Regions from separate parts of the Homo sapiens genome. Here all the other regions are linked to region 1. The links are contacts of gene promoters, found by promoter capture Hi-C in blood cells and fetal thymus (Javierre and others, 2016). All regions are on one chromosome and are shown on one strand. The core of a region is centred on a gene start or on the middle of the fragment in contact, and the rest is flanking DNA. Distances in the headings are between cores, read along the strand shown.

What was found. Contacts are between HindIII fragments. The CHiCAGO score rates a contact against its expected background, and 5 or more counts as called.
Region 2: a fragment that was not itself captured here is called in contact with the fragment with the promoter of FAM174A in region 1 in 2 of 17 cell types (non-activated CD4 T cells and total CD8 T cells); the score reaches 8.3 in non-activated CD4 T cells.
Region 3: a contact is called between a fragment that was not itself captured here and the fragment with the promoter of FAM174A in region 1, in 2 of 17 cell types (non-activated CD4 T cells and total CD8 T cells). The highest score is 6.8, in non-activated CD4 T cells.
Region 4: a fragment that was not itself captured here is called in contact with the fragment with the promoter of FAM174A in region 1 in 3 of 17 cell types (naive CD4 T cells, non-activated CD4 T cells and total CD4 T cells); the score reaches 6.6 in naive CD4 T cells.

Annotation. Positions count from the first base shown.
Region 1 is chr5:100,533,008-100,538,603 of GRCh38, forward strand. It overlaps FAM174A (family with sequence similarity 174 member A), which reads left to right and starts at 2,367. Exons shown (of 3, transcript NM_198507.3): 1 at 2,367-2,957. The coding sequence starts at 2,524. It overlaps FAM174A-DT (FAM174A divergent transcript), which reads right to left and starts at 2,236. Exons shown (of 5, transcript NR_172939.1): 1 at 2,154-2,236; 2 at 1,073-1,145. RefSeq lists an enhancer at 2,326-2,625. The HindIII fragment of the contact is 3,135 bases long and covers 1,990-5,124 here.
Region 2 is chr5:103,258,767-103,264,362 of GRCh38, forward strand. It overlaps MACIR (macrophage immunometabolism regulator), which reads left to right. Exons shown (of 3, transcript NM_033211.4): 1 at 1-130. Among named protein-coding and RNA genes, the nearest start is that of MACIR, 2.8 kb to the left of the region's middle. RefSeq lists silencers at 1-167, 378-757. The HindIII fragment of the contact is 1,254 bases long and covers 1,988-3,241 here.
Region 3 is chr5:103,131,716-103,137,311 of GRCh38, forward strand. PPIP5K2 (diphosphoinositol pentakisphosphate kinase 2) reads left to right here. Exons shown (of 31, transcript NM_001276277.3): 3 at 1,738-1,933; 4 at 5,017-5,107. Among named protein-coding and RNA genes, the nearest start is that of PPIP5K2, 14 kb to the left of the region's middle. The HindIII fragment of the contact is 6,863 bases long and covers 1-5,596 here.
Region 4 is chr5:103,113,125-103,118,720 of GRCh38, forward strand. The region is part of intron 1 of GIN1 (gypsy retrotransposon integrase 1); the gene reads right to left. Among named protein-coding and RNA genes, the nearest start is that of GIN1, 4.2 kb to the right of the region's middle. The HindIII fragment of the contact is 1,334 bases long and covers 2,272-3,605 here.

The sequences.
Region 1 (5,596 bases), core at 1,117-3,616:
CCAGATATTGTCATATCCTGTCCATTTCCCTAACTTTTTTCCCATTAATCCAATCCTACAGGCCTCTATAGCCCTAGGACTATATACTAACCTGCTTGGTGCCCAGCACTTTCTACCTTCACTTAAAATGGCTATATTACTGCCAGGATAAACTTTTTAAGTACAGATCTCTCCTGATATAGCAACCAACTAACTAAACAACAACAACAAAAACAAAATCAGATTTTTCAGAGATACTCAATTCTCAACAAAAGTGATCTTAAGCAGGCAACATACCTGGAAGTTACTGTGCTCTTTTTAGAATACCATATTGTTTGTAAAACATCATTATATAATGACATCTTGAAATCTGTCATGGGAATGAACAAAAATTTTCCTAGGAGAAGATACTGTGTTTTGTTTGTGCAATAGAAAGTTACAATTTTGAGCACAAATATCTATGTGAAATACAATCTTTCAAACTAAGTAAAATTAGTTGTTTATGAATTTTTCTCTTAATTTTAATATACTTGTTCATTTACTTGTTATCAATTGGCTTGCAAACAAGTTGTACCAAGCACAGGATATAAAAAAAAAATACATAAATAAGGGGAAAAAATCTCAGAATGAGAAATTTGTATCAGGTTACTGCCACATTATTATATTCTCCTAATTAATACCATGATTTGATTCTAGCTTCTTAATCAACTATTGCTAGAATAATGTGGCATAATCAATAACCATAGAAATATCAGTGGCATACAGCAAATAAGCATTTATTTTTCACTTCTTTGGTCAAGCTGGGGTTGACTAACTTAAGCTAACCTTGGCTGCATTTGGTGCCAGGCTATAGGTTTAGTCATAGTTTACGCCAGATATCCCACAGTCTACTAGGATCAGAGGACTAGCTGGGTCATATTCTTTTCAAGGTTAGGGCCAGAACTTTCTGTGCAGAGAGGGCAGGCAAGTGAAAGGGGGAAAGGAATAATGAGAGAGGTAGGTGTGTGTATGCATGTGTGTGTGTTTCTGGCTCTCTCTCTGTATATATCTACCTGTATCTGTCTCTCTTTTAGCAATGAAAACAATAACTTACTCAAAAGACCCACGTATACCCTTGACAGGCATCTCATTGGTGAGAGGTACATCATGCGGCCACTTCTAGTTATCTGCACAAATTGAAGTTCCATATTACTGAAGTCAAACAGGCAAGGAAGACATTATTGAAGACTACTGCTGTTGGGAAAGGGGATAAAACTCTTCTAATCTCAACTCCTCTAAAAGAAAAAAAGGAGTGGAGAGTTATTAAGAGCTATTTTGGGAAGATCACCGGCCACCTGAGTTTGCTGATTGACTTTACCCAAAGGAAAAGTAAATTTTCTCCTCCATGACAGGAGGTGGTTTTACAACTTGAAGCGAGAAGCCTACAACAGTTAGGTTCCTTTCCTCTCACACAAAATAAGAGATGGCCCACTACCTTCCTTGCTGATTATATTTCAAAGGCATGATGGCTTTCCATACCCTTGAGATAGTTTTCAATTATATAACTGGCCAGAAGCTTTAAAAAATATTTACATCTGAAAAGGGAAGAGAAATAACTTACAATGGTAAAGTTTTCTAAAGTAATTTTTTTTAATATACTTTAAGTTCTAGGGTATATGTGCACAACGTGCAGGTTTGTTACATATGTATACATGTGCCATGTTGCTGTGCTGCACCCATTAACTCGTCATTTACATTAGGTATATCCCCTAATGCTATCCCTCCCCCCTACCCCACGACAGGCCCCGGTGTGTGATGTTCCCCATCCCGTGTCCAAGTGTTCTCATTGTTCAATTCCCACCTATGAGTGAGAACATGCAGTGTTTGGTTTTCTGTCCTTCTAATAGTTTGCTCAGAATGATGGTTTCCAGCTTCATCCATGTGCCTACAAAGGACATGAACTCATTACAAGCAAATGCTCTTTAGAAAGGGAGGTCAGGGACCCATAGGCAGGAAAAAAAGCCTGCTTAAAGCTTGTAATGAAGCTAAGGAAAACTAAGCCCTTCTGGCTTACAGATTAAATGTGTTATTGCAGTTTGACACCAATGAATTCAGATTATGAGTTTCCAATCTCTCAGGGTTCCTGCATGAGAGAGTTGCTGTACATTTTACACAATCTCTTTTTGTCTACTTACTTTCTTAATACGCATCCTTGACCGCTCCTCACTAACAGTGAAAAGAACAATGCTTCCAAAACGGTCACGTCCTCGCTTTTTACACAAGTGCGCGTGCGCACTGGGCGCTAGGCCTCTGACGTCACCAAGTGCATCCGCCCCTACAAGTTAGCAACCGAAGGCGTCCTTAGCAGCAGTGGCCGCTGAGATGTACGAACTTCCGGTTCTCCGGGCAGCTGCCACTGCTGTAGCTTCTGCCACCTGCCACGACCGGGCCTCTCCCTGGCGTTTGGTCACCTCTGCTTCATTCTCCACCGCGCCTATGGTCCCTCTTGGAGCCAGCGTGGCGGGCCTGGCGGCTCCCGGGTGGTGAGAGAGCGGTCCGGGAACGATGAAGGCCTCGCAGTGCTGCTGCTGTCTCAGCCACCTCTTGGCTTCCGTCCTCCTCCTGCTGTTGCTGCCTGAACTAAGCGGGCCCCTGGCAGTCCTGCTGCAGGCAGCCGAGGCCGCGCCAGGTCTTGGGCCTCCTGACCCTAGACCACGGACATTACCGCCGCTGCCACCGGGCCCTACCCCTGCCCAGCAGCCGGGCCGTGGTCTGGCTGAAGCTGCGGGGCCGCGGGGCTCCGAGGGAGGCAATGGCAGCAACCCTGTGGCCGGGCTTGAGACGGACGATCACGGAGGGAAGGCCGGGGAAGGCTCGGTGGGTGGCGGCCTTGCTGTGAGCCCCAACCCTGGCGACAAGCCCATGACCCAGCGGGCCCTGACCGTGTTGATGGTGGTGAGCGGCGCGGTGCTGGTGTACTTCGTGGTCAGGACGGTCAGGTGAGGCAAAGCCTCGGTGGGGCACCCCCGTGGGCCTGAGATACGCAGGCCGGTGATCTCCAGCAAGGCTGACTTCTGTGACCCTTTCCCCCTTCCCCAGCATCAGGGACTCCTGCTTAAGAATATGATATTGACTTTCTTAAAGGCCTGTTACCTTTGGAGCAATTTAAACCTATAACTAATTGCTGCCTTTTGTTTATAAATGAGTGCCCTACCTCCAAATCTCTTCATCTGACCTACAACCCACGTCAGCCTCAAAGGGCACCCTTTCTCTGAAGTGAGGATAATCTTTATTCCCTAGAATTTTGACTACTCTGTCTTGTAATACTTCTACCTTTCTAGTCTAAATTTTTGTATACCTAACTGGTCAAAATTTTGCCAATCAGAATGCAAACTCTTTAAAGACAGGATATCTATTTAGTAGGTTTGTGAGTCTTACAAATTATTTGTACAATGCTGCCACTTAATAGGAAATCAATATATATTTGAGTGGATTAATAGTAATATAGAGGTGCCTTATGGATATTTTATTTTTATAAAATTCAGGAGAAGAAAAGTTCTTCCTTACTATCAGTGTTTCCTAGTATTGCCCTTTAATCTGCCACCTAAGTGGCAGAGAATCACCTTCCTGAAGAGTTGACATACAGAGCCAAGACCTCACCATTAGGAGAAGCCAGCAAAGAGATAAGGTGAGGGAAAGCTGTCTAGCAGTTTATTTCATTATAAAATAAGTGTAGAGGGTAGGTTTGCAGCTTATGTTTGTTTATTGTTTTCAAAATTCACGTTTTTCCCATAAATACCCTCTGTATTGTAATTTAACATATTTCTTTAAACTGATTATTTAAAGCAAAAGTTTCCTTTTAAACAAGTCGTTATTATCATGAATGGAAAACCAACATCACTTGGCTAGTTAAAAAATAGTGTAAGCCAGTGGTTCTTGACATGTGGGCCAGGGAACCACACAGGTGGGAGTTTCACTTAGACCTCTTCAGGGCATCTACAGTATTAAAACTATTTTCAAAATAATACATTCTGTTACAGGCTTATAGGGTACAAGTAGTTCATTGATATTGTTTCAGATTCCACATTGCAACTAATCTTTAAGAAACTGCTTGTCAAGTTTTGGTGTAGTAGTATCATAAAGGAATAACCACTCATATATAAAAAGGCTATTAAAATGTTTCTTTCCATTCCAAGTTTATATCTGTGCGAAGATGGAATTACTTTGTATGCTTCAACCAAACAACACATTGCAAAGGATTTAATGCAGAAGTAAATATAAAAATCTATCCATTTCCTATTTTTTGTTTCTATTTTTTATCTACTCCTATCACCTTAAGCCAGATATTAAAGGGAATTGGAAATAAGAATCTAAATGTCATTCTTTTTACGTTTTTTTCTTTTTTGAAAATATAGTTGTTTTTCATAAAAGTTATGTTAACTTGTAATGTGTTTACTATTATTTTAAATCAGTTGATAAGTATAGGTTTTCTCAAGTTTAATTAATATGGTAAAGTTGATATGTGTAATTCACATAAATATAAGTTATTTTGGGTTCCTGAACAATTTTAAGAATGTAAAGAAATCCAAAACAGCAGGCGTAAGCAATATTTGAGAACCACAGCTGTAAGAAATATTATTTGAGCTAGATATTGTTGGTTCACAAAGGCTAGCAAATCTGCACTCACACTCTAAGTGTTAAAAGCATATTACCACCAAACTGAGACTTTCTTCTTAATATAAAGAAAGATTAAAAGAATATTGAAACAAATTATTTTCCTCACTATATAACTGTTATTTACTGCTGTCTGTACATAGTTCCTATAAAAATGCATGGCCCCTTGAATGTTGTATCTCTTATACATAAAAATGATAAGTATAATGATAATTTGGGGGGAATATTCCTTCCTTGTTTTTTTCCTTTTGCTTCCACCTTTTTAATTATTTTAAATACACATATTTATTACCATTGATTTTCTGTCATTAATGTTGTAAAACTTGGACAGATACAGTCCTTCCAATATGATCCTATTGGATGACTTGGTAACATGATGTGTGTTAACAGCCAAATTCTGAACTATGGCTAATAAAAAGTGCATTCTTTAACCAGCATCTAACATATTCATGCAGTCCAAGTCCTACATTTAGTTGGCTGCCTGGCATCCAAAGCTTGAATGATGCTAACAATGTCTGGGCAGTGTTCCGAACTCATACTTTTTGCTTCCAGATTATGGTTTTCTTCATTATCTTGGTGAATGCTCATTTTGGCTCCCATTTTCAAACTATGTGTGACAGTGCACTGAAATTAGTTATTTGTGCCAAGGGAGAAGAATGGGCCAAAATCATTATTTTCTTAACTGATTTGAGGTGATGCAGAAAATATTTTACTTGTAAAATTTTATTACATTGAACTACATGAGACTTTCAAATAGTTTTGTTTTTATCTAATTCATTTATAATGAATATGTAGGTAATAATAACTTCCTTTTTGAGTCTGGAAACATTCCAAAGAACAGTCAGGTTCTCACTGTAGAAATACAAAACATATATATATATATGTAAGTGTATATATATATATGCAAGGAACACGGTAGGGACAAAGTAGATTGCCTAAAATGAACACTTAATCTCTATGAAAA
Region 2 (5,596 bases), core at 1,365-3,864, 2.7 Mb after region 1:
GAGGGTACCCGGCTGGCTCGGCTGGCGGCCTCTGCCTGGATCTCGGCGCCGCAGTCCTGCGCCTCTCCCGCCCCTGTCTCCCGCTCCGCAGCCCCGGGCACGGCGGAGGCAGCGGAGCCCTGGGCCATCGGTAGGTTGCACGGGGACGACGGCTCCGTCTGTAACCTTTTGTGCTGCAGAAAAGGTGGTGGTTATGGGGGGCTTGGGGGAGTGGGTTTGCCCCAGGCTCCGATCCCCAGTGCCAGCCCTAATCGCGGCGCCGCCCCTTCCTCTCCGCCTCGTGTCTGGGCCGGGCGCACGATGCCCGCGGTGCTGGGGAAACCCGGCCGGACCAGCTTCTGCGATGGGCGGCGGGGCGGCCCCAGCGTCCCTTGGCCTTGGTGGACCGGTTCCCAGGCACCCGAAGGGGACTGGGGTCTGGTAAACTGGGTGGGGCCCGCGCGGGGTGCGGGGAGCTTGCGGTTCCCTGGCACAGGGGTGGGGCCGCAGACGCCGTGAGTGTGCAGCGCGTGTGAGTGTGCGGGGGCGTGCGCCCCCGTGTGCGCGCGTCGTGCGCTCGCTGGGGAGGTGCGGGGACTCGGCGACCCGGAGCGCCTCTCCCGCGGTGCCGCGGTGCGGAAGTCGGGGCGCGTTGGCGCGCACGCTCGCTCGCTCCCTCCCTTGGCCGCTGTTCCCGCACCGCGGGGCAGCGGGCCTGGAGGCCCCTTTGAGAAGTAGCTTTCCCCGGCCGGCGGCACCTTTGGCTGCGTGCCCGGCCGCGCTCAGGGTGCGACTGCCCGGGTCAGATAGCACCTCAGGGCGAGCCCCGGCGGTCTGATCTCGCCGACCCTCCTCGTCCTGGTTGCAACCCGCGTGCGAGGCCGCCCGCGCCCTCCGAGTGTCTGCCGGTGCAGTGGGGGTGGACTGGCCGGCTGTGGCCGTGTGTGCGCGTGTGGATTGGGGCCCGGTCCGAGCCAGAAGCTTAAGCGGCAGATGTCGGGCATTGCCACCCTCGCCCCACCTGTCGCGGGTGGACTTTGGGGCAGGTGGGAAGCGGAGGAGAGGGGTTTCGAGGCGGGTGGCAGTCAGACCTCCAGCAACGCGGCCCCATTGTGAAGCTGCCAAACTCTCTCTAGTGGTGGAATCTGCAGGTCTCCGCCAGAAAGGAGATGGGAACGCGAAGGGAATGATGGCCCCGTCCTTTTCCCCTTGCTAGTGTTCCACACGCTTAGGGACTCCCTGCCTCTCCTTCCACCTCAGTTTTCAACCCAGTGGGTTACTGATTTGGGTGGAACCAAGATTTCCGTGTGTGTGTGTGTGTGTGTGTGTGTTTGTGTGTGTGTGGTGCACAGGTAAAGCTGGAGCTGGGAACTTTTTATTTGAGCAGGAAGAATGGAGGCATTTTACAGTGTGCTTGCCGCTCCTAGCTGAAAGAACAATTCTTGCATATTTCTGATGTTACTAGACTCATTTTCCTTTTTTTTTTTTTTCCGAAGAGCCAACCTACAATTTAGGGTTGTTAGTTGTTTTATTTTCTCAAATCCTGTAATGCTGGATTGACACTATAGAGGTAGAAATGACCCTTTTGCAAAGTTTATTTTCCCAGTCATTTCAAAATATAGTATTGGTTATTACGGCAGAAGCTTTTGGCCGCGATTTATGATTACACTATTAAGTTTAATGAATGTGTCACAGAATCCTCAGTGTTTTAATTATGTAACTGTGAATGCATTATAAACTGAAAAGTAAAATGAACAGGATGGAATATAAGAGTTAATGAATACAGAGACCTGTTAATTTGATAATAATTGATGTATAGAATATGCTTTTGCTAACAGTTTATTTAATTGCAAATGAAAGTGTTAGTAATTATTTCAGTGTATAAGATATATTTATTGATATTATATAACAGTCAATGAATTTGCTTATTTTCTTTGTATATTTCTGTGTATTTTAGAGAGCTATTATAAAATTAACTCAAAAGTACTTAATATGGTTAGAGTAATAAAGCTTTATGTACAGGGTTTAAAATTTCTTTGCTGATTTGTAGCTGGGGGTGAGGTGGGGGATCAGCTCCTTTCCTCCAGAGAGAACTTTGATTTTGTCACCAGCCTATCAAAATGAGTACCTGGTTTTAAGCCTTCCCAAAGATTAGCCAATTCCACAGTGTACACCTGTTCCATTTTGATGATACTTCCTAAGAGACAAATTTCTTGTAAAGGCTGCATGTTGACCTTTAGTTCCACTTACTGTCGGTCATATTTGCAGTGAAACTGAGTATTTTTCTAAAAGTAGAAGGATGACACCACGTGATAAGAAGATATTAGTAACCTAGGTTTAATTTTTACTAGCAGAAATGGAAAGATAATGAGTGCTGCACTTTAAGGGGGTGGATTGCTATTAAAAGAACTGATACTAGAAAGAGAAACACATTTTTGTCTTACTGAACGAATTATGGGTTATCTTACAAAGTTGGCAAGGTTAATGGTTTGTTTGTAAGGTCAAGGATGGTTTCAGAAAAGTCACACCCTAGTTAACTCTTCTTAAAGAGTATTGATGACTTACTTTTTGCAAGTTGCAAATGGTAAAGTAAGAATATTTGAAAGAAGCCTCTAAGATGAGCATCTAGGTGCAGCTAAACATTTTGTTTTCATTGTTGTGTTGTACTTTGACAGTTAAGCCATTTTATTTCTGCTTAGTGTTCAGTTAGTATTCCTCCAGAGATGTTTTGGTTCATCTTTTACTTGTTTTTAGTGGTCTTTGAGATTAGTGGTTACAAAATATTTTCACTATTTTGAAAGAATTTTTAAAAATTGATGTTTTTTTTCCAAGTGCTTTTCCATTAGTGGTCTCTTCTTAAATAGCCACTCTGAAAATACTACCTGTTTTTCTTTTTCTTTCTTTCTTTCTTTCTTTCTTTCTTTCTTTCTTTCTTTCTTTCTTTCTTTCTTTCTTTCTTCCTTTCTTTCTTTCTTTCTTTCTTTTCTTTCTTGAAAATGTTTTGGTGGGCTTCAGGTTAGGGCCATGAAAAAAATGAAAATAAATGTTTTGATAGCTAGAATTAGAACTCACAGCTTCTACTGTACCAATTTCTCTGCCTAAAATTTGTCCTTTCATAATATAAACTTTAATGATGAATGTGATTTTTATTTACCAATATTTGAAAGGGCTATGTGCTGGTCCTCATATTTATAGTCTTATGATTTGTGATCAATGTTGTTAAATTTTTTCTTACTGCTGTTTTGTTAGTGATCTGTGCTGAAGCTTGAGATTCACGACTTTTTTGTGTGTTTACGAATTTTGTATGGACATAAACATTTCCAAATGGAGCTTTGTATATTTTTGGGAAAGGCACTCCCTTTTTTGGGTTCCTAGTGCCATTCAGGTTTACTGTTATTAGAAGGATTTATTTCCATGTCTGCCCTCCCCTCTGACCCAGTCTCAGGCCATCTCTTTATATGTGCACCAGTGCCTGCATAGTGTGGGGATATATAATAAGACTTAAGAAACATTGTTGAATGACTGAATAAGTGAATATCTAAGTGGGTACACCCGAAGAAAGAACTCAGACCTGTATGGGAATTCACCGTTCAAGCAGAAGGGTGTTTCCCTTTTTAAAAAAGTCATTGCCTTTCCATGTTGCTTTTGAGTAGGATAACAAATGAAACAGCCAAACTGAGACACTTTTGAGAGTTAAAGGGGGTTGCTTTCAATAATTATGCCAGGGTATTGACTATGAATTGAGATATATAGTCACTCTTCTTTTGAAAGGCATTCTTATTTACCTGTGATAATAACTATCACCTGAGAAATTCGATACATTTGGTAGTTAATGTTTGCAAACTTTTCTATTTGTAGAAGCTCCACTTGCAGTGAAATGTTGGGTGTCTTTTGCTTAGTCACCCATGACTTTCTTATCCAGAAGTCTGTGGGCAGCTCTTGGCCACTGCTTGGTTTTTTCCTATTTTTATTGCTTATGGGATAATGTCCCACTGCATTCTGTTTCAGCTTCTTATAACTGGAAGCATTTATTATATCTTGTAGCCTTTGCTCTATTTACTTCAGTCTTTGTTTTTATGCAGCATTTAGTCTATCTTCTAAGAATTTCACATGGATTCCTTTTCCTCTTGCTGACTGTTTTGGAGAGGAAATCTGTTGATATCTTTCCAAGCCTTCAGTGTTTAGAACATTGGCCAAAATCAGTTGCAAGCGTTAGAGAATTATAGATTTTTAAAGTATTCTAAAAATGTGTGTTATTTGAAAGGTACATGTTTTGGGAATTTTTATATTACAATCTTTTAATTGTTATAAGTGGGAGATGGGGGTAGAACCCTTACTGTAATTTTGTAGTAGATTTCTTTATGGGTTATGTCTTAAAGAAAACGTATAATCTTATACTAGTTAGTTTCTGGTCTTGTTCTTTTTATTTATTTTTCCCTCTTTTTCACCATATACCTCCTCCTCCTCCTCCTCCTCCTCCTGCTCTTCCTCCTCCTCCTCCTGCTCTTCCTCCTCCTCCCACAAAGCAGGAAGCAGAGTCAAAATTAGAAAAAGTGAGAATGTAATGGAGCTTCTGCACCTTGGTTTTCTTGTGTTGCTCCCTTGGACATTGTGTTTATATTCTATTTTTGGCTTGGCACTGGCATAATAGGAATAATCAGTTACTACTCTTTGTTTACTATGAAATTACCGATCATTTCCTAGATTTACACATCAGCTCCAGTGCAAGAGTTGGGTAATGTCTTCAAGGCTCCTCTGCTTTCAAATCCAGACTAAAGTTTTAGTTGATTTCTTTCTTTTGATGTTGAAAAAGAAACTCTTTGAAAGTGTAAATATTTTTCTAATGCATTTAAAAGCTTAAAAAGAAGAATATGTCACCAAATACATGAGGCAAATTATATGAAAGTTTGAATGAGATTTAAGACTGTCAAAACTATTCTTTAGGATTAAGACATTCAGATATTTCTAATGTTCCTCCTGCTTGTTTTAAATTGACATTTATAAAAGTATAAATGAAATCTATCCCACTTTGTGATAGATGTAGTCTTGAGAAATAAAGCGGAAATATATAACTGTATTTGATATCCAACCATATAACCAGACGGTATTGGTTGATACCTTTTTTTCTGTCGCATAATTTATGATTTTAGAAAATAGAAGCTCATAGGAGAAAGAGTCCATGATTCAGAAGGATTTTGTATAAGACTTTCCACGATGTGCCACCAAATCTTAATATTTTTCAAGTTGGAAATAACCATGCAGCTAAGTAGTTCCCCCAACCATTTCACAAATGAGGCAATAAAGCTTTTAGATAAAGTGCCTACCCATACACTTAAAATAGATTTTCACTTATAGAAATTACTTGATATACATTTTGCGGGATCATGATTATTGTGTAAAAGGCTATACATGTTGTCTTATCATTGAACAGAGGCCAGAGTGTAAAGTAAATGATCTTTGGAGTCAGACCAATTGGGGTTCCAATTCCTGCTGTGACTCTCATGTAGTATCACTTAAAAGAGTACTTTAAAATAGGGCTACTACTAAAGAGTACTTTAAAAATGGGATAATAATATTTTCTTCATGGAGTAGTTAAGATTAAATGATATAAATTGTA
Region 3 (5,596 bases), core at 2,096-4,595, 2.6 Mb after region 1:
CTGTTTTTAAGACTTCAAAGATGTGACTATAGTTTTTTTAGACATTCAACCTAACAAAATACCTCAGATCTGTTTAAAAAATTATCTTCATGATTTTAAGGTTTTACCTAACAGAGAAACTCTGCGATTGTGCCTTAAGAATGTAAGTTTATTTATACATTTTAAACTTGAATGGTTCCCATTCATCTTAGCCAGTGAGCAGATATTCATTAAATAGATTTATAATAAATAAGACAATATATTAGCATTTAAAAAAATTGTAAAGCAATGTGAAATGTTAGGTTAGAGTACATTTGTTGTCTGGGGAAATCTACTTTAGGAACATTATAATGAACTGTACCAAAACTTTTGATCAGGAAAGCATTGAATAAGGGCATATAAAAGTGGATGTTCAGAGGGATAAATACAGAAGATTCCAGGAGAGTTAGCATTTATAATCTATTTGATTTACCAATCAACTCTAGTACAATTTGAACTCTACATTTCATGAGTTTGAGGAGACAATACAGAAATACTGTTCTAGGCATAAAAAAAGAACAATTTAGGCTGGGCGTGGTAGCTCACGCCTGTAATCCCAGCACTTTGGGAGGCCGAAGCAGACAGATCATGAGGTCAGGAGATCGAGACCATCCTGGCTAACACGATGAAACCCCATCTCTACTAAAAATACGAAAAAAAAAATTAGCTGGGTGTGGTGGTGCATGCCTGTAGTCCCAGCTACTTGGGAGGCTGAGGCAGGAGAATTGCTTGAACCCGGGAGGCGGAGGTTGCAGTGAGCTGAGATTGCGCCACTGCACTCCAGCCTGGGCGACAGAGCGAGACTTTGTCTCAAAAAAAAAAATTAATTAATTAATTCTGATGTTATCCAATTTTATTTTTAGTTATATTAAGAAAAAGCCCAGAAAAGCACTTTCAAGCCTAGATTATAATGTTGTATGAAATATATAAAGTATCATGCAAGAAAGAAAAATTGAAATGAGAACCTCAACACAGCTTTTGTATATTTGATAAAACTCTCAAGCACTTAAATGCAAAGATCACCAAATGAATCTTGAGTAATTTTATAAATCTAGGAGCTACTCATAAATCAGTTTCTATATCCTGCTTTTTAAGTTTTAGGCTGAATTGTGGCCTTTGAGCTGTTACGAGGATGCCAGAGATCAGTAACACCAATGAGTAGGAGTTTTGACTATGAAGACAGGAGGGGCAAAGAGACTTGACACCTCTGTTAGCAGTGTGGCTTTCTTTAAAATTTTCTTCCAAGTTGTCATCAGTGACCAACTAATATTCAAGTGCAAACTACAATAATAGTTTAATACTTATAGCTTTGTAGTCAGGACTATGTCTTACTTTAGGCAAGAGAATTCTTTATCTTTCTACATAGAGTGGATGGGTTTTGACTGTTATTATACTTTACTGGTGTGAGGAGGATAAATAAATGCTAGAGGTAGTTAAAGAGGGGGTACTTTCTTAGTTTGAAATTTCATTGAAAATAGCAACCATATTTATTCTGAAAGTGTTTTTGTTTTTAAATTTGTTTCCAGACTTTTGTAGAAAACTGTTTTTTAAATGTTTATTATAACAATGATATAATTTTTAAAAATTCCTTTGTTTGTTAATGTGTCACTTTTATTTATTAATCACATGCCTTATCTACTTTTGGAAAACAAATGAAGATAGCTGTACTTTGGAGTTCATGTAAAGTTAACCCGATTTTTTGTTTCATTTTTGTTTTAGCCACCAGAAAGGCAGATTGTGGTTGGAATATGTTCCATGGCAAAGAAATCCAAATCCAAACCAATGAAGGAAATTCTTGAACGGATCTCCTTATTTAAATATATCACAGTAGTAGTATTTGAAGAGGAGGTTATTTTGAATGAACCAGTGGAAAACTGGCCTTTATGTGATTGTCTTATTTCTTTCCATTCTAAAGGTATTAAGGGGAGTGGGGGAGAAACTCCTTTATCCTCTCTGTTTATAAAACTAATACATATTAATTGTAGACTATGAGATAAAACAGAAAAATAAACATTAACTCACTTTCATGGACAGGTAATATTAACATTGTGATATATTTCTTTCCAGTGTTTGTCTTCTATGTGTATTATCATTTAATTTAGTGTCATAGTGTATGTGTAATTTTATATTTAACCTTTTTCACTATTATATCAAGAAGTTTTTTTCCCCTACCATGTCATTCTTAGATAATGTGGTTTTTAATGGTGGCATAGTATATCATTGTGTGGATATACCATAACATATTTAAATTTATCCAATATCCTAACATTTGGAAAGTTTCCAGTTTTCACTATTAAAAATAAGGTTGTGTGATCTTTTTCACTGCATATTTTTGTTTGCATCTCTAAGTTTCTTAGGACAAGTTCTTGAATTATTGAATACTTTAAGCCCCTTTCTATGCTTTATAGAACAAGATCTATCATTTTTCATATACATATTCATACTTTATTTTTAAGAACTTAATAATTTGAGATTTTTAGACATTCCTTGCTATATCTTATTAATCAAACTGAAATATCACTTCAGCTTAAGTATTATGTCATTGTAAATTCCACTAATCAAAATTATTGCTGAGGGTACATCTGAAAATTGATAGCCTAAGAATCTGTGAATTAAGTGAATTTCCCACTAAGAACTATTAATTGAAAAGATGTGCTCTCAGTTGTAAATGTATTCATATTTAATCATCACTTGTTACCAAAATATGTTCTCCTGAGCTATGTTAAAGTCTTACTTCAGCAAGAAGAAGATGGAGCATGGTTTTGCTACCATAGCCTAAATTGATGTTCATTATTTCATAGAGAAGTCAAGACACTGATCTTCAAAGACTCAGGCTGCTCATTTTAGAGAACCTTAAAATTTCTTCCTCCTTGAGAGTAAAGCATTCTTCCCTTACCCTCACATGGTTCTTCCTATTAGTGTTATATTTGCCTGTAAAAACTGGGTGTTATAGCTAATGTCATATTCCACATACCATCTCTTGGTAGGGAAAAAGTTTCTCTTTAACAAAAACAAAAGCAGGAAACTGTGTAGGTGTTTTCTATTTGCTGAATTCTGTAAGGAGGCTTCAAATCATAGACATTGAGACATCTTTACAAGCGATGAATTCTGAGAGTCTTTATAAAACTTTCAGGATTTGTAATTTGTGGCTAAGTGGTTCTTGATATAAGGTATCTGTATTTAAATTTTAAAAACTAAGAGGAGTTTAGGAATAAATCTGATTTAACTGGCCACAGCTTTTTGTTTTAATTTCAGCATGTTTTAATACTTTTTCTCTTAACTATTCTGGTAGTACTATAAAATATAGTCTCTTCACAGGTATACTTAGTATTCCATAGTTGAATACTAAAGTTATGTATGCTTGCTGATTTTTATCCTTTTCCATAGATATTTATTAAAATATTGCCTCTTAAGGAATAATAACAGGTAACATTTATTGAGCACTTACTATGCCAGGTACTGTGCTTAGTGCCTTATATCCACACTATTATTAATTCCTCAAAACTCTACTAGGTAAGACTGGTATACTACTCTTTTGTGCTGGTACCAGAGGCTTAGAGACGTTAAATAAATTTGCCCAAGGTCACATAGCTAGTGAGAGATGGAACCAGGATTTGAACGCTGGTTTATGTCTTTAACTGTTACGGTATACAACTGATGATGTGTATTGATGGATAAAATTGGAGACTTTGTGTCAATTTTTTTTTTCCCCCTGGAGGACAGGGTCTTGCTGTGTCAACTAGGCTGGAGTGCAGTGGTATAGTCATAGCTCCCTGTAACCTCAAACTCTTGGGCTCAAGTGATCCTCCCACCTCAGCCTCCTGAAGGATAGAACTACAGGTTGCACCACTACCCTCAGCTGATTCTTTTGAATTTTTTGTAGAGATGGGATCTTGCTATGTTGCCCAGGCTGGTGTTGAATTCCTGGCATCAAGCACTCCTCCCAACTCGGCCTCCCAAAGTACTGGGACAGGCAAGAGCCACTGCACCTGGCATTAGTGCCAATATAGAGAATAAAATACAATCATTAAAATTTTTTAGATTTTGGGGGAGGGGACCTGTTCTTCACTATATCTACTATTTGATTTGTTTTCATTGTAATTAGTACTTTTACCAGTCTACAAGTTTTAGGGACTTAATTTCTAATATTTTAATGTTGACCTAGCAATAGCATGATTCTGCTCATATATTTTGAGCATATATGTCATATATGAATTAAGTTTTGCTTCTGTAGCTTTTTTTTTTTTTTTTTTTTTGAGATGGAGTCTTGCTCTGTTGCCCAGGCTGGAGTACAATGGCACGATCTCCACTCACCGCAACCTCCACCTCCTGGATTTGAGTGATTCTCCTGCTTCAGCCTCCTAAGTATCTGGGATTACAGGTGTGCGCCACCACACCTGGCTAATTTTTTGTAATTTTAGTAGAGATGGGGTTTCACCCTGTTGGCCAGGCTGGTCTCGAACTCCTGACCTCAGGTGATCCACCTGCCTCGGCCTCCCAAAGTGCTGGGATTATAGGCGTGTGCCCCCATGCCTGGCCCACTGTTTTTAAAGGCACATAAGTCTTTGAATATCAGCTAATTTATGTGTGTAGGCATCAAAATATCTAAGTGAAAAGAAGAGATGTTGAATACATTTTTTAAAAATCACCAGGTGATTCTGATACACCCATGTTATTTACATATAGATTTCTCTTTGTGTATGAGGTGAATCTTACCTTATTTCAGGTGACTGACTAGTCAGACCTTCACTCACATGTCAGTGCTCCAAATTTGGTTATATAACCACTGGTTTGTTGTGCCTTAATCAAATTATGAAAAAATAAGATTTAATATATAAGTTAAATCAAGGTTTATGTATATATTCCATACCTTTTATAGAAGGGTGTTATGTGTTAATGAAATGAATCTTTTATGGGAGGTGGCATCAATTCAAGTTAATAAAGTATAGATGCTTATCTTGAGATAATACAGAATATGTTAATAATATGTGTTCTTAGGATTTCCACTGGACAAAGCGGTTGCCTATGCAAAACTCAGGAATCCATTTGTAATCAATGACTTGAATATGCAGTATCTCATACAAGATAGGTGAGTGGTGAAGTTGGCTGAATTAAGGGAAGGAAAAATAACATTAATTTAGTACCTACTGTACACTGACATGGCATCAGGTGTTTTTGCATTATTAATTCATTGTACTTTCAAAATAATACTCAGAAATAGTTATTTATTACCTAATTTTACAGATGAGGAATCTTGATAATTAGGAAGATTGATTAATCTACCCAAAGTCACAAGTTCCCCACGTAGTAGGACAAAGACTTAACCGAGATTGTTTAATTTCCAGAGCCTACTAAACCATTCAAACTTATGAGCACTTTTTCTGTCATGGGACTGATGATGAAATTAGGACTTTACTCATTATAACTAGATTTTTTTTTTTTTTTTTGAGATGGAGTCTGGCTCTGTCGCCCAGTCTGGAGTGCAGTGGCGGGATCTCAGCTCACTGCAAGCTCCCCCTCCCGGGTTCCCGCCATTCTCCTGCCTCAGCCTCCCGAGTAGCTGGGATTACAGGCGCCC
Region 4 (5,596 bases), core at 1,689-4,188, 2.6 Mb after region 1:
CTGTCTCTAATATGGTCCCTGTCCTCACTGCAGTCACAGAGGTCACACTAAAACACAAATCTTATCAAAATATTCACTTAACTCGAAATACATCTTTTGCCATTCCTGATTGTTTTAGTCCACTTGGGCGGCTATAACAAATATACCATAAACTGGATGGCTTATAAACAGAAATTTCTTTCTCACAGTTCTGGAGGCTAGGAAATACAAGATCAAGATGCCAGCAAATTTAGTGTCTACTGAGGGTTCACTTTCTTATAGGCAGCTGTCTTCTCACTGTAACTTCACATGAGGGAAGGGGAAAGGGGTTTCTCTCAGACTCTTTAAAATACAGGCACTAATCCCATTAATGAGAGCTCTGACCTATGATCAAGTCACCTCCTCAAAGTTCCACCTCTTTTTTTTTTTTTTTTTTGAGACAGAGTTGCGCTCTGTCGCCCAGGCTGGAGTGCAGTGGCATGATCTCAGCTTACTGCAACCTCTGCCTCCCAGGCTCAAGCAAATTTTGTTCCTCAGCCTCTCGAGTAACTGGGACTACGGGTGCATGCCACCATGCCCAGCTAATTTTTATATTTTTAGTAGAGATGAGGTTTCACGATGTTGGCCAGGCTGGTCTCGAACTCCTGACCTCAAGTGATCCACCCACCTTAGCCTCCCAAAGTGCTGGGCTTACAGGTGTGAGCCACCGCGCCCAGCCCCAAGGTCCAACCTCTTAATACCATCACCTTGGTGGTTAGGATTTCAACATATGAATTTTGGGAGAATACAACCATTAAGACCATGGCACTAATGATATCTAAATACCTCTGCCAGTATACAAGGCTTTATAAGATATGGTTTTTATCAATCTCTCCATCTTTTTCTCTTGGCATTCTCAATTCAAAACATAACCACAGTTCTTCAACCATCCCATGCAGTGTGCTCACACCTTTTCATTGATATTTTTGCCTGGAATGAACTTTTATTGCTATTTCTCCAGCCCCTCATCATATTTCAAAACTCTGGCTAGGTGTAATTTCCTGCAGAGTGTCTTCTAACCACTCCAACCTGGAATAACTTAAAATTTTAAGAATGAGTTGGAGTTACAAGATTAGATTTCTATTCTATAAAGTGTATTGTGCACCAATATGGAATAGAGATTGGGGTAGAGACAGGAATACCTGTACCAGTCAGCTAGGAAGCTACTGTATAATTAAAGCAAGAAATGAGGAAATTCTGAGCCAAAGCAGTGTCAGTATAAATGGATAGATACATTATATAAGAACTGTAACTGACTAGATGTGTGGAGTAAACACAAAGAAGAATCTGGGATCACTTCTGTCTGAAGCTCTGGCTTAGGGAGAAAGATGACAATATTAAGCAGGTTCTATTCTTCATGGATGAACTCGGCATGTAAAAAGTAGGTGAAGTTAAGGCAATGGAAGAAGGATCAGATGGAAAGTGTACACAGTAGGAAGTGCAGTGAACATATCCTTATCTTTCAACGTTCACATTAATGAGTTCATTCATCCATGAATCCTTTCTGACCACATCCCCAATCTCAGGGAGAATTGTGCACACCCTCATTGGTACATTCACAGTAATATGTGTCAACCTTTATCATAAAATCTGAAACACTCTATTGAATATATTAGTTTATATGTCTCTCTCCCAAATATATTGTAAATCTTTAGGGACATGAGACTAGCCAGAGAAACAGGAAAAAAGCCAGAAGAGGTTCTGGTAATAGAAGTCTGGGAAATACAGACTTCTTAGAAGTACACAGAGAGGCTAAGTGATATAAGAACCATAATGTAGCTAGTGGTTTTGGCAACAGTATACAGTATAGTTACAGTATAGCAGGGCAGTTGGCAACCAGACTGAAATGACACAAGGAATGAATGGAAATTCAGAAAGTGGATTTAGAAACTTGGGCTTAGCTATAAAGGCAAGGAGCTACAAGATAGTTGCTAGAGACAGATATAAGGTTCATTCATTGATCTAAAAAATGTGACTGAGTAACTGCTATGTGCCAGTTACAACGTTGGAGACAGGATAATAAACAAGATGTAGATTCTCTTGACCTTCATTGAGTTTACATTCTAGTGGGGTTAAAAGTTTTGACAGTCATGTTCATAGCCACATCACCCACAACAGCCAAATGATGGAAGCAACTCAAGTGTCCATCAATGGCTGAATGGATAAACAAAATACGGTGTATATATTCACACACCTTTAAAGGGAAGGAGATTCTAACACACGTTACCACATGGATGAATCTTGAGGACATTAAGCTTAGTGAAATGAACCTGTCACAAAAAGATAAATACTGTAAGATTCCACCTATATGAGGTAGTCAGAGTAGTCAAATACATACAGACAGAAAGAATAATGATGGTTGCATAGAACAGGGGGTGAGGAGGAGAGAATGTAAGAGTTATTATTTAACTGGTCAAGAGTTTCAGTTACACAAAATGAAAAGAGTTCTTGGGATGGATGGTGGTAATAGTTGTAAAACAAATGTGAATGTACTTAAAGCCACTGAACTGCACACTTAAAAATGGTTAAGATGGTAAATTTCATGTTATGTGTGATTTACTACAATTAAAACAATTTTTTTTTTGAACAAGATTGTTTTGCTTTCGACAAGGGAGTAACCCAAAAAGTTTAATGCTAATGGAAGGGCTTCTAGAAAGACCACTGAAAACAAAGGAGAAAAAACTTATGGTATGATGTCCTGAGATGGCAGCAGGGGATGACATCCAATTCACAAATAGAGGGATTCGTCCTGTGATCTCTTCCAATAAAGATATTATAGTGAATATAACCATGGAAGAAAATTATTTCTTTCTGAAATGCCACTAAACATTCCCATATAGGCTTCTGACTAGAATGCAGAAAGCTGGAGTAACTCCCACTCTACCTCTGAGAAAAAGTGGGACAAAATGCCAATTTTCTCCAAATTGATCTATAGATTCAATGCAGTCCCAATCAGGAACCCTCAAGCTCTTTTGCAGAAACTGACAGGCTGATTCTAAAATTGATATGGAAAGCTAAAGGACTCAGAATAATTACAACAACTTTGAGAAATGAATATAGTTGAAGAATTTCACATTATTTGGTTTCAGGACTTTCTATACTACTATGGTAATCAAGACTGTGTTATAATGGCAAAATGACAGCCTTAAATCTATCGAACAGAATAGTGACAGAAATAGCCACTCAGTTATAGTAAACTGATTTTCAACAAAGGTGCCAAGGTAATTCAATGAAGAAAGGATAATCTTTTCAACAAATGCTGTAACAATTAAACATCCTTTGAAAAAAGATGAACCTCAACTCATACCTCAAATGATATGTAAAAATTAATTCATGATGGCTCACAGATCTAAATGTACAACTTAAAACTATACAACTTCTCGAAGACAACAACAAAAATCTTTGTGAGCTCAGGTTGGGTAATGGCTTCCCAGACAGCAAAGAAAAAGCAGCTATGCATAAAGAAAAAATTAAAATTTTTATTCCTTAAAGAACTGCTAAAAAAAGAGAAATAACACTGGGATAAAATATCTGCAATACATACATATGATAAATAACTTTTTCTAGAATTTATAAAGAACTCTCGAAGCTTAACAAGAAAGCAAACAACCCAATTTAAAACCTGGAAATACACTTCACTAAAGAGATATGATTAGCAAATAAACACATGAAAAAATGCTCAACATCAATAGATAATAAAAAATGTAAACTAAAACTACCATAAGATATGACTACACACTAACAACAACAAAAATAAAACAAAACCTAACAATGCTAGGTACTACCAAGGATGCTCTTACTGGTGATAATAGAAAATGATGTAAACATGTTGGAAAACAGTTTGGCAATTTCTTATAAAGTTAAACATCAATTTACCATATGGTCCAGCAATACCAATCTTAGATACTAACCCAAAAGAAAATATGTACACCTAAAAACCTGTAAGTGTATGTTTTTAGAAGTTTTATTCATATCAGCCAAAACCTGAAAACAAATGTTCATCAACTGGTGAATGGATAAACAAATTACAGTAGATCCACATACTGGAATACTATTAAGGATTGATAAGGAACAAACTATAAATAGACCTAACAATATGAATAAATCTCAAAATCATTATGCTAAGTGAAATAAGCCAGACACAAATGGCTATATATTTTATATTTCTGTTTATATGACATCTGGAAAAGCCAAAAGTATAGGAAGAGGAAATAATTTTAAAAAATTAAAAATTTTAAAAACAATGCCAACGCAATTGCACTGCATAAGAATGTTTTGGTCAAGGATGGACTGCCTATTGGTCCCGTAAGATGATAGCAGAGCATATATAGAACCTGATATAGGTCATTTGATATTAGCACTGCAGATCAAGTAGGAGAAATAAATGATACCCAATAATGTGCAGGGACATTTGGTTCTCTATATGAAGAAAAAAATATACACACACACACACACACATATCATCTAGGTTCATGTAGGTAGAGTCTGTATTCGTGCAATGCTGAAACTGCCTAACAAAGCATTTCTCAGAATTTATTCCATTGCTAAGTGACTCACGACTACAGCTGCAAATAGTTATGCAGTATTTTACTATGATAATCCTCACAGTACTTCATGAAGTAGGTATTAGTTTTATATCCATTTTACAGGTAGGAAAATGGAGGTTCAGAGATTGTCCAATTTACTCAAGGTAATAAAGTGAGTACATGCGCTGACACTTTTAACTTGGTGTCTCTTACTTCAAATTTCACGCTTTTCCCCCCTGCTATACCAGTAAGTCAATTACTTGTTATCCTTAGCTTTTATAATACTTGGTTCAGGCCTCTGTTACACAAATTATAAAGTGATTTTTGTAATCAATAATTTAGATTATAAATGAGGAATGGAAAGAGTTTATTAATTTTTTATGTTTACATTGTTTAACATAATGTTCAGAACACAGTGGACACTCAACTATTTGTGAATGAATAAAGAATTACCTGCATTTCCTGAAAGGAGAATTAAAAATTATAGCAAATATTCCAGAGGTAAATTATTTCACTTTTGAAAACATTACAGTTCACTTTCACATACATGGCACTATAAGTAAACTGTGTCTAAGAAGGTATAGACTTAAGCCTTAGTATCTATGTTTGGAAAAGGACATAATATCTATCCCTTTTTTGCAATTACGAGGATGATTAAAAGTCCTTTGTATATGGTAATGTATAATTATTATCATATCTAAGTATTATCATCCATATCAGGCTGTTTAAAGTAACATAAAACCCTTTCTTTTCCCAAAATCTTCACCTACATGAAAAAATATTTTAAAATCTCTTTCCTTTCATTAATGGTGTTAATGTTTTATAGCAATGTTTATAAAGCTTCAGTGCTAAGAAGAAAATAATCAGAAGACTCACGAATTGTATCCTTTTATAACGATATAACAGTCTAATGCAGTTCACAAACTGCTGGTTCTGGAGGTAGAGAGACAGATGACAAGGAGAAATAGAAAATGCGTAAGAAAGAAAACTCAGTTCACGAAAAGCATAGCCTTTGAAGTAGTTAAAAGTTTTACTGCTAATAATTGGTATTC